Regions from separate parts of the Homo sapiens genome. Here region 1 is linked to region 2. The links are contacts of gene promoters, found by promoter capture Hi-C in blood cells and fetal thymus (Javierre and others, 2016). All regions are on one chromosome and are shown on one strand. The core of a region is centred on a gene start or on the middle of the fragment in contact, and the rest is flanking DNA. Distances in the headings are between cores, read along the strand shown.

Region 1 (6,051 bases), core at 2,431-4,930, 40 kb before region 2:
TCAGGCAGATAGGACTTGAAATGTAATGTCTGCCACCTGTTTTATCATTCATTCACTGACTCAGACATGTATCAAGTCCTGCCTATGCATAAAGCTATGCACACATATGAACAAAACTAAGTACTTGCTCTTAAAGCATTTCCATTCTGGTGGAAAAGGTGAAACATGCTCTTATATTTTCCTGTTAACCTGCCCGCCCCCAAAACCCTATTTTTTAACAGAGGTCTAGAACCTGTTTGGGTTCAAAGCCTGACTCCACTACTCAATAGCTGTGTAACCTGGTCACTAGTTGTATAACCTGGCCTCTCTGTGCCTCGGCTTCCTCATCAGTAAGATGGTACCTACCTCATGGGATTGTAAGGCTTAAGCAAGTTAAAACACATAAAGTACTTAGCATGTTTAGTACATAAGAAAGGCTCAATAGCTGTTAGCAACTTAAAACATAAATATCCTCCCCAGCAAGCCTTAGACCCCTAATCCTTTCTGGCAGTACAGCACAGGTAAGAGTAGATTAATCATTCAGATTGTGTCTGTGGCATGCACCCAACACATACATTCTTTTAAAACCTTATTAACATGTCAACAAAGCAAAGACTACATCTGACAAATAAGAGCTCTGTGGTAATGAGGTCAATGTCTGCAGTACTCTTTGATTTAATAAGCCTGGGTAGGCAACAGGTATCTTCAAAATAATACAAGTAAAGTTGATATTTTAAAAGTGAATGTTGTATCAACTAGCTGGTGTGTAAATACTAAATGACATGGCTACCTTGGTCAGCTGAAATTCCTTCTCCACAGAAACAAGTTGAAATCATTTCCTACTGCATTTATGGATTTTTAATGAAGTTTTTGCAATTTTTTCATACTGCACAGGCATATTTCTTTTCTTTTTTTTTTTTCCCCAAGATGGAGTCTTGCTCTGTTGCCCAGGCTGGAGTACAGTGGTGCGATCTTGGCTCACCGCAACCTCCGCCTCCCAGGTTCAAGCAATTCTCCTGCCTCAGCTTCCCGAGTAGCTGGGATTATAGGTGTGTGCCACCACGCCCGGCAAATTTTTGTATTTCTAGTAGAGACGGGGTTTCATCATGTTGGCCAGGCTGATCTCGAACTCTTGACCTCGTGATCTGCCTGCCTCAGCCTCCCAAAGTGCTGGGATTACAGGCGTGAGCCACCACGCTCGGCCAATTGCACAGGCATATTTCTAAGAGAGAATTATAAATAAACAACAAATGCAACAGGTCTCTAAAAACTGCCACAGGGCACTTGTCCATCTAGGAAGTATATCACATTAGGTACCAAAAATTACATTTAAAAGTTTTAATATGTCAGTGAGAATGGTATACAGTTTCATTAGCACAAACAAATGTCTTCTATTTAAGTAAGACCCCCATGCAATGTCTTTGTGATCTTTACTTGCAATCCATAACATATATCTATCTATCTATCGATAGATACATCTATCTATCTATCGATAGATACATCTATCTATCGATAGATACATCTATATGTCTATCTATAGATAGATACATCTATATGTCTATCTATAGATAGATACATCTATATGTCTATCTATAGATAGATACATCTATATGTATCTATAGATAGATACATCCATATGTCTATCTATATATAGATACATCTAGATGTATCTATATATATATAGATACATCTATATATCTATCTATATCTATCTATCTATAGATAGATATAGATAGATATATCTATATATAGACGGAGTCTCACTCTGTTGCCTGGACTAGAATGCAATGACGCTATCTTGGCTCACTGCAACCTCCGCCTCCCAGGTTCAAGCGATTCTCCTGCCTCAGCCTCCCAAGTAGCTGGGATTACAAGCACCTGCCATTATGCCTGGCTAATTTTTGTAGAGACAGGGTTTGACCATGTTGGTTAGGCTGGTCTCAAACTCCTGGCCTCAGGTGATTCACCCACCTTGGCCTCCCAAAGTGCTGGGATTACAGGCATGAGCCACTGCGCCTGGCCTAAAATAATATTTTTAATTTTTCAGAGGGAGTATGCTATGTTGCCCAGGCTGGAGTGCAGTGGTTATTCACAGGTTCTAACATCGGTCCCTACACCCTCAAACTTCTGGGCTCCAGTGATCCTCCTAACTCAGCCTCTCCAGTACCTGGGACTATAGGAACATGCCACAAAGCTCGGCCCAGTAAAATATTTTTAAAAAACTTTAATGGGCAATTATTACATAGCAAGCACTGTTCTAAATATGCACTGGTGATAAAGAGAAGCAAGAAACATGCTTTTGGCCGGGCTCAGTGGTTCACGCCTGTAATCCCAGTACTTTGGGAGGCCAAGGTGGATAGATTGCTTAAGGTCAGAAGTTCAAGACCAGCCTGGCCACCATGGTGAAACCTCACCTCTAGCAAAAAATACAAAAATTAGCCGGGCGTGGTGACAGGGGCCTGCAGTCTCAGCCACTCGGGAGGCTGAGGCAGGAGAATCCCTTGAACCCGGGAGGCGGAGGTTGCAGTGAGCCGAGTGCCCCTGCACTCCAGCCTGGGCAACAGAGGAAGACTCTGTCAAAAAAAAAAAAAATGCTTTCAGCCCTGAAGGAGCCTGGTTTAGCAGAAGAAACCTATACAAATGTCGCCTAAATATACAAATAGACCATACCTAAAAGACCCTAGCACTGGGCCCAGTGAGGCCCACAGGATTCTATTGGGGGAGAATCAGGCACAGTTCCAGAAAGAACCCTTGAACTACTAAGTCCTGAAGGATGCGCAAAATTCTTCAGTGAGATAAAGAGAGAAATGGCAGTATCCACAGAAACTGCAGACTGGTTAGGGCCTTGTAATTCTGCGCAGCTGGAACGCAAGATTTGGGTAGGAGAGCGGTAGATGAGGTTGGAGAGACAAACGGGCTGCCTTACAGATAGACGTTCCACGAGAAGTTCGTAGTTTTTCCTATTAGGGAAGCTATGGGAAAATCCTAATCTGGGTAACGATGTAACGGGTTTACACTTTAGAAAAATCCGTGGTTTAGGACTCTACAACTCCCATGGGCGGGCTGCCCTAACCCAGGGGTTCCCACTTCCGCTGTTCCGGGATTCACGGACGACTCGCCCCCTTTTCCCAGCCTTGGTCAGCACTGTTACCCCGCCCGCCGTGCGATCCCGCCCCCCTCGGAGCGCCCCTGTGGTCTGACTTCAGCAGCACTTTCCGGCAGGAGACTGGGCACTCGCTGTCACCCGCGAGCTGCCTCCCTCAGCGAGATCTGAGCATCTTTCCGGAGGCTAACAGACCTGGGCTTCGGGGTGACCACTGTGCTTGCCTCAGTTTCCTTTTCTGGAGCAGGGGAAGGCCCGGCTCCCTGCCCAAAGGCGGCTGTGCGCTAAGTGGCAGACGCTCGGGGAGAGCCGGCGCGGGGCGGACCCCAGCGCCAGTAGTGACAGGGGCGAACGCCGCCGGGAGACTCCAGCCGGCGGGCGAGCAGGGTAAGCCAGGCCGTGGGCGGGAGGGCGGGGCAGCTCACCGGTAAAAGGCAGAGTCCCCGAGTGGGTTCCAGTTCGCCGTGTAGCAGTCCATGGCTGGTGCAGACGGCAGCTGGGAAGCACCGAGGGGACACCCACCTAGAGCGGGCTCCAGGCCGGCACTTCCGCTTCCGCCCGTCCGGGTCACGTGGCGAGGCCGCCGCCGCGGCCATCACCACTGTGGGCAGCCTCACTTGGCTGCCGCCCCGAGACCCCAGCCCGTACCTGGGCTTCGCGCCCGCCAAGTGGGCCCAGCCCTGGCTCCTGCGCCCTGTGGCGGCCACCTCCATCGCCTTGCTTTCCCTTCGGGCACTGGGGGTCGCTCAGGGCGGGACATGGGTGAACGGAAGTGGAAGCTGTGAGCGTCGCAGCCCGAGGCGCCGAGGCCTGAGGCGCCGTCGGGGCCACAGCGACGCTCGCATGGAGAGCGCTGGGCGCTGGGCTGTGCACCGACGGCTAACCTGGACCCACGGTCTCTGCGGGGCGGGAGCTTTGCAGAACCGACTGGCCGACTGGGGCGCGGGAACATGAGGCTTGGCTAGGAGCCCGCTGCGGGCCAGGCGCGCGGTGCGCAGGCATACCCGGGTCGCGGGTGAACACCGCGGAGCCCCGGGACTTGGTAATTGGCGCGAGCGGGTGCGCGCATGCGCGGGACGGCGGCGGGCACGTGGCGAGGCGCAGGGCGGCGCCGCGCGGGAAGCTCCCCAGTGCCCTGGAGGCCTGCTGGCTGGACGACCCCCTGCCTCTGGTACCAAGTGTGACCAAGGCTGGCGCCACCATGGCTCTGCTGCCGTCACCTCCTCCCTTTAGCATTGAGCAGCCCCGGAGGGGCTAGCCCTGAGGCTGACCTGCCCAGAGTCCCCACCATCGCGCTGCTTAGTGGCCTCTCCCTGCAGCCTGTCGTTGCTGGTGGCGGCATGGTCTTCTGTCTGTCGAGCGAGGAGCCGCGCCGCCCGCTGCGAAGCGACATGGTCCACTTCCAGGCCTCGGAAGTCCAGCAGCTGCTACACAACAAGTTCGTGGTCATCTTGGGGGACTCCAGTGAGTGCCTCTTCTAGGGTGACGCTTCCAGTCCCACACCTTGCAGCCCGTTCAGTGTGTCTGGACCATTTGTTTCCATCTCACATCTCTTGTCTGTCTTCTGGTCTGTTCCGTCCAGTAGGTTTTCTCTTTTTATGTCCCACACATCTTCCACAGGAGTCCTGACAGGTGTAATAACCTGTGCACTTTTTAGCCCATCCTTGCTCAGCATTTCTCGCCCTGACAGCTCCCCATAATTTCCATCACGAAAGCGTTGCATTGTGTAGTGTGTCTCCTGGGTGACTTGGCCGACTTAATTTCTGCCAGGTGATCTTGGGTCACTGTATACTGCTGGCCAGGAGGCACACAGAACAGAGGCAATGCCAGGACTTTTTAACCTCATCTTTTCTCCTGCGTCTAAGTCAACCACAGAGCTGGTGTCGGGCACCTCAGCCCTGGGAAAATGGGGTCCTGGACTTGGAAGGAGCTGGGGCAGGCTGAGGTCTGCCTCAGCCTTGGGATCTCTGTCTCCTCCCAGTTCAGAGGGCTGTGTACAAGGACCTGGTGCTCTTGCTCCAGAAAGACTCACTGCTCACAGCTGCCCAGCTGAAAGCCAAGGTGAGGGAAGCTTGGTGGCCATGTCAGTGGTGGGTGGGCACAGACCCTGGCCTGGCAGGGTTCTCCTCCCTGGCATGGGTCTGACCAGTAGGGTGGGGGGGGTGGGTAGGGGGAGCTGAGCTTTGAACAGGACCAGCTGGTGGCTGGGGGCCAGCTGGGCGAGCTGCACAACGGGACACAGTATCGTGAGGTCCGCCAGTTCTGCTCGGGCTCTGGCCACCACCTTGTGCGCTTCTACTTCCTCACTCGTGTTTACTCCGAGTACCTTGAGGATGTTCTGGAAGAGCTGACATATGGACCTGCCCCGGACCTGGTGATCATCAACTCCTGCCTCTGGGATCTCTCCAGGTTGGGGCGAGGGAAAGGGGAATACTGGTTGGGGCTGGAAGTACGGCTGAGGCAGTCCACCCTTGTGCTCTTGCCCACCCTGTGTGTTATCCAACAGATATGGTCGCTGCTCAATGGAGAGCTACCGGGAGAACCTGGAGCGGGTGTTTGTGCGCATGGACCAAGTATTGCCAGACTCCTGCCTGCTGGTGTGGAACATGGCGATGCCCCTCGGGGAACGTATCACTGGGGGTTTCCTCCTGCCAGAGGCAAGTGACTGAGGCCCATCAGGACAAGAGATGGGATAGCAGACTGGTAGATAGGACACCCTGCTTTCAGACCCTGCTGCGTTCTGTGGCTCTTAGAGGCTGCACTTTCTCACTTAGCTCCAGCCCCTGGCAGGCTCCCTGCGGCGGGATGTGGTTGAAGGGAACTTCTACAGTGCTACGCTGGCCGGGGACCACTGCTTTGATGTCCTAGACCTCCACTTTCACTTCCGGCATGCAGTACAGCACCGTCATCGGGATGGTGTCCACTGGGACCAGCATGCACACCGCCACCTCTCACACCTGCTTCTGACC
Region 2 (5,599 bases), core at 2,412-4,911:
GTGCATTCCGGAGATGTATAGAAATTCTAGGGAAAGAAGCCTGGTACCAGATGTGGCTTTAGATAATAGGAAAGTACCATTCTGAGTTCTTCAGATAAGGTGCTTTGCCTCCTGATGGTCTGCTTGATGGCCACCAGGTGATCCTTGCTCTCCTCATTTTCCCCCTGATAAATATTTTGGGCAAATCTTTGACCCTTTGTATTTCTCCATGCTCATGTCTACTTGTCTGTTAGGATCCCAAGAAAGGGAAAATGGCACAGTGAAGAGGGGTGTCCAGTCTATCTGGCTACTTCCTGCTGAAAAGGGGCATTGAAAGGATTCCTTTCTTGCTTTCTGTCATGAAGGGAATGAAGGGTCATGATAAACTTGTTCATGGAGGGAAGACCAGATTCCATCAAGAGGCCCCATGAAAATAGAAGTTGCTGTTGCAGGCTGGTATTGGGATTGCATAGTCATCTGTAGGTGGAATCATTGTAAGCTGGAAGATATAAGCATTAAAAGGCAGGAATTACCGGCATGCACCTCCATGCCCACAGATTTTTGTGTTTTTAGTAGAGACAGGTTCTCACCATGTTGGCCAGGCTGGTCTCCAACTCCTGACCTCAGGTGATCCGCCCGCCTCGCCTTGGTCTCCCAAAGTACTAGGATTACAGGTGTGAGCAACCACACCTGGCCCCTGGGGTCTCAATTTGTGTATTTATGCATGGCCTCCACCAGTCTAGCTTGGAAAAGGGCAGGGCTTTCAGATAGTTTCATACATACAAAATTATTATTTCTTTTTATTTTATTTTATTTGAGATGGAATTTCGCTCTTGTTGCCCAGGCTGGAGTGCAGTGGCGCAATCTCAGCTCACCACAACTTCCGCCTCCAAGGTTCAAACGATTCTCCTGCCTCAGCCTCTGGAGTAACTGGGATTACAGGCATGCACCACCATGCCCAGCTCATTTTGTATTTTTAGTAGAGATGGGGTTTCTCCGTGTTGGCTAGGCTGGTCTCAAACCTCAGGTGACCCGCTCGCCTCAGCCTCCCAAAGTGCTGGGATTACAGGTGTGAGCCACCGCGCCCAGCTATTATTTCTTATAATTTAGAAAAATTAACAGGTTTTATTATATATTTTTCATTCCCTCCAACAGAGAAGTTACCATATGATCCTGTCTGCCCTTACCTCTGTTTGGGCCAGAATTGGTGGCCTGGTATTGCCAATAGGTTCTATGTTGGGGACAGCTTCTGCCCAGCTCTGTTATTAGGACTGGGAGCATGAGCTTCATCTGCCCATGCTGAAGATCACACGTGTGATTTTTTGTGTGTGGGAACAGCAGGTAGTTAATACCACAAATACATCTTGCCAGGTTAAATCAAAGGCAACAGTTAAAGTCTGAAATTCTTGAATGAACTTAGAGGGATCCTGACTAAATGAACCCAACTTGGATTGAATTTGCAAAAGATCAGACATGATCAGAAAAGGGACATGAACTTGGCTTGTTCCCAAATCTTCATTAGCCACCTTAGGGAGAGGCAAAATATTTTGGGGATTTTTCTGAGGACTCTGTACTAGTAGCATATGTGACTCCCCTGAGAGTATGTGAAGGGGAGAAAGTATTTGGGTATGTGGGTGGGAGATTGACTAGGGAATGGAGCAGATGGAGAGGGTGTAGGTGAAGAGTGAGCAGGTTGAGGAGGATGTAATAGGCAAAAGGAAGGATCATCTAAGACATCAGAACCGGGAAGGGAGGACGTTCCTTGGAAGCATACATGACAATTTGTATGTAATTTTGGGTTTGGATTTGGGGATAAAGCAAAAAAGACCTGAACATATGGGACTTCTGAATCCTTTCCAAGGTTCCGGCAAAAAATCAGTTAAGTTGTAAAGTAGCATTGCAATCCCAAGTTTCATTAATTGGCCAAATTGATTGATTAGGGAGCTTGTATTGAACCCAAGCAATATTAGAAAAAAGGATATGCTTTTTAAACTCTTATTTATTTTTTATTTGTATTTTTTGAGACAGAGTCTTGCTGTGTCGCCCAGGCTGGAGTGCTGTGGCGCCATCTTGGCCCACTGCAACCTCCGCCCCCGGGGTACAAGTGATTCTCCTGCCTCAGCCTCCCTAGTAGCTGGGATTATATGTGCCCGCCACATATAATTAGCCCCCTGGCTGATTTTTTTTTTTTTTTTGTATTTTTAGTAGAGACAGGGTTTCGCCATGTTGGCCAGGCTGATCTCGAACTCCTGACCTCAGGTGATCCACTCGCCTCGGCCTCCCAAAGTGCTAGGATTACAGGTGTGAGTCACTGTGCCCGGCCAAGTTTTGCATTTTTAGTAGACTCCCGGTCTTTAACTCCGGACCTCAGGTGATCTGCCTGCCTTGGCCTCCCAAAGTGCTGGGGTTACAGGCATAAGCCATTGTGCTCAGCCTTATATGCTTATTTTTAAGAGTTTGTGGGTCAAAATGAGACCAATGGGACCATTTTTAAGGAGGCAATCCAAGGGCGAGTTGGATGGAACTGAATTAATTGAACCGAAGTTGGGTTTAGACAAGGAACTACAAGATCCCTGAGGCATCCCTGTGTAGAATTGAGATCCACCGCTTCCAGGACAAGGCTTATGGAGTGTTAAAATGAAAGTGCCCTGCCACTCTGACAGGCAATAGCTCTTTTGTCTTGGCCTTGGGGTAATACCGGGGGATGGCGCTTGGCCAGAAACTGTCAGTTGCCAACGAGAACTCAAGCTGGTTCACTGGCAGTCCGAAAACAGAAAAGAGCCCTGGCCAGTCCCTCACCCCTAAGGGCAAGGACAGCCAGGTATCCCTTCTCTAGGGCTTCAGGATCCCACAGAAGAGCTGCCTCCACCGGGACCGGCAGTTCCCCAAAGAGTAAAGAACCAGACCGTGGAAGGAAGCAGAGAGAAAAAGGAAGAGGGAAATCCCAGTGAAGTCCCCGTATGGGCCACCAAGATGCCAGGCGAGGTGTCAGAGCTCCGGAACCGGGAAGTGGTTGGCTCCCGGGTGGTAAAAGAACTTATCAACAACCGTGTAGGTCTGAAAAGGAAAGTTTTATTAGACGGAAAGGACGAGGCAGCAGAGCGCAGTAGGCGCTTCAGCAAGAGAGGACTGAGCTCCCTGCGGGGAACTGCAGGGTAATTTGGACCACATTAGTCACTTAGGTCATGGTAAATGGTTACATTTGTCGATATTTTGGTGCCTTGATGTCAGCAAAGTTTGCACAATGGGTCTTAACGTGCACTCATTCCGGAAACGTACAGAAATTCTAGTTACTTATAAATTCTTGGGACGGAAGCTTGGTACCAGATGTGGCTTTAGACAATAGGGAAGTGTCATTCTGAATTGCTCAGATAAGGGGCTTTGCCTCCTGTTGGTCGACTTGATGGCCACCAGGTGATCTCTGGTCTCTTCAGTGTGGCTTTGCAGACTATAAAGGCGCAGCGCGCCAACGAGGCGGGTTGGCCCCAGACGGCGGAGAGGAAGGGCAGAGTCGGCGGTCCTGAGACTTGGGGCGGCCCCTTGGAGGTCAGCCCCGCTCGCTCCTCCCGGCCCTCTCCTCCTCTCCGAGGTCCGAGGCGGGCAGCGGGCTGTGGGCGGGCAGGAGGCTGCGGAGGGGCGGGGGGCAGGAAGGGGCGGGGGGCTCGGCGCACTCGGCAGGAAGAGACCGACCCGCCACCCGCCGTAGCCCGCGCGCCCCTGGCACTCAATCCCCGCCATGTGGGGGCTCCTGCTCGCCCTGGCCGCCTTCGCGCCGGCCGTCGGCCCGGCTCTGGGGGCGCCCAGGAACTCGGTGCTGGGCCTCGCGCAGCCCGGGACCACCAAGGTCCCAGGCTCGACCCCGGCCCTGCATAGCAGCCCGGCACAGCCGCCGGCGGAGACAGCTAACGGTGAGTTCCCCGACCGACGGTCCGCTCCCCCGCAAGCCGACTGCCCGGCTCTCCTGCCCCGTGGGGCGATCCCTCCCTAACACGCGGGCACACGCACACCCACGCACACTCACAGTCATGCACACTCACCCCGCACGCACACTCGCACTCACGCGCACACACGCGCGCGCACTCACACACATTCACACACGCGCACACTTGCACTCACACGCGCGCGCATTCACACGCATGCACACACACGCACACTCACACGCGCGTGCGCGCACACACAGTGCACGCGCGCGCACACTCACACTCACAGTGCACACACACATATACACACTCACACTCCCTCAACTCCCTGCTGGGAGCAATGGCTGCTGACTCGGCAGCCCCAGTTCCCTGCCAGACCTAGTCAGCAGTCCCAGGACAGGCGCCAGTGGGATGCTGCCTCTTCCAAGCCCCAAACCTTCCCTTTTCACCAAAGACAAAACAGGCCAGAACTGGCAGGAGGGGAGACAGAGGGGCAGAAGCTCTCAAGGTGCAGAGCAAGACTGCGTAGGAGAGAGTTTGAAGGCGAGGGCTGGAGAGAAAGAACAAAAGGAAAGAAGGGAGAGCCCCTCGCTGAGGCTGCCGGGAGGATGGGGCAGAGCGGGAGAGGAAGGCAGCCCGACCTCCCAGCTTTCCAGATGTGGAATAGGAGAGGAGGAGCGCAAGCGGAGGGCACTCAGGGGCTTCTAGAGGAGGCAAGTGGAGGAGGGTCTTGAAGGGTGATGTCCCCGAGTCAGGGGAGTCTGGAGAGAGAGAGAGAGAGAGGGCTGCCAAGAAGGAAGCGGCGGGCAAAGGCACAGGGGCACCAGATGCGGAAATGGGCAGCCTGTTCTGGAGGCAGCTGTGGAGCTTCGATGGGTACCCCCAGCACCTGCCTGGGCAGAGCCTTGTGCTGAAGGGCCGGCGGGCAGGCCCAGCCCTGAAAGCCTCGACACCCAGGCAGACATGGATTCCAGGACAGGCCATCTGAGCCCAGAGAGCAGACACAACAATGGAAGCGGCACAGGGGTTTTGGGGCATGATGCTGAGTCTGGAGCTAAGAAAGCCTCCTTGGAAAGGCATCTGGGCTGAGATGCAAAGGAAGAATGGGAATTAGGTGAAAAAATCAGAGGCGAGGGGTAGCATTACAGGGGAGGGGATAGCTAGTGCAGAGGCCCGGAGGTAAAGTGCCAGACTCAGCTCTTTGGAGCAACCGAACAGTTTCTAGAGGCTGGGTGCAGCTCTCCATTGGATTAGAGGTTCACAGGGGAGGCTGGCCAAGCATGTAGTTACATCAGGGAGGAGAAGGAGGAGCCAAGGAAGTGACTGGAGAGGCAGGTTGGGGTCAGATTGCAGGCCTTTGATGTCCTGTGAAGGCTGTTAGATCCTGGTGGTGTGGCCTGCTGTGGGCTCACATGTCTTCTTGGGCTGGCAGACCTTTCCATCCGGGGTTTCACCATTCTTCCTTTCCCCCATGCTGTGCCTCTCGGACCCCAAGGGACCTCAGAACAGCATGTCCGGATTCGAGTCATCAAGAAGAAAAAGGTCATTATGAAGAAGCGGAAGAAGCTAACTCTAACTCGCCCCACCCCACTGGTGACTGCCGGGCCCCTTGTGACCCCCACTCCAGCAGGGACCCTCGACCCCGCTGAGAAACAAGAAACAGGTACTTCCTCTCCAGGGGCCCAGCCCAGACTTGCAGC

Evidence for each region. The method cuts DNA at HindIII sites, captures the fragments that hold promoters and counts their contacts. A CHiCAGO score of 5 or more calls a contact.
Region 1: the fragment with the promoter of PCED1A here is called in contact with the fragment with the promoter of CPXM1 in region 2 in 1 of 17 cell types (megakaryocytes); the score reaches 5.1 in megakaryocytes.

What each region holds. Positions count from the first base shown.
Region 1 is chr20:2,838,284-2,844,334 of GRCh38, reverse strand. It overlaps PCED1A (PC-esterase domain containing 1A), which reads left to right and starts at 3,680. Exons shown (of 8, transcript NM_022760.6): 1 at 3,680-4,124; 2 at 4,402-4,546; 3 at 5,064-5,143; 4 at 5,253-5,491; 5 at 5,589-5,739; 6 at 5,857-6,051. The coding sequence starts at 4,423. It overlaps VPS16 (VPS16 core subunit of CORVET and HOPS complexes), which reads right to left and starts at 3,590. Exons shown (of 24, transcript NM_022575.4): 1 at 3,508-3,590. The coding sequence starts at 3,560. RefSeq lists enhancers at 2,782-3,313, 3,847-4,378, 5,855-6,051. The HindIII fragment of the contact is 13,128 bases long and covers 1-5,155 here.
Region 2 is chr20:2,798,689-2,804,287 of GRCh38, reverse strand. CPXM1 (carboxypeptidase X, M14 family member 1) reads left to right here and starts at 3,661. Exons shown (of 14, transcript NM_019609.5): 1 at 3,661-3,887; 2 at 5,395-5,562. The coding sequence starts at 3,716. RefSeq lists enhancers at 3,118-4,103, 4,104-5,091, 5,092-5,599. The HindIII fragment of the contact is 3,566 bases long and covers 3,298-5,599 here.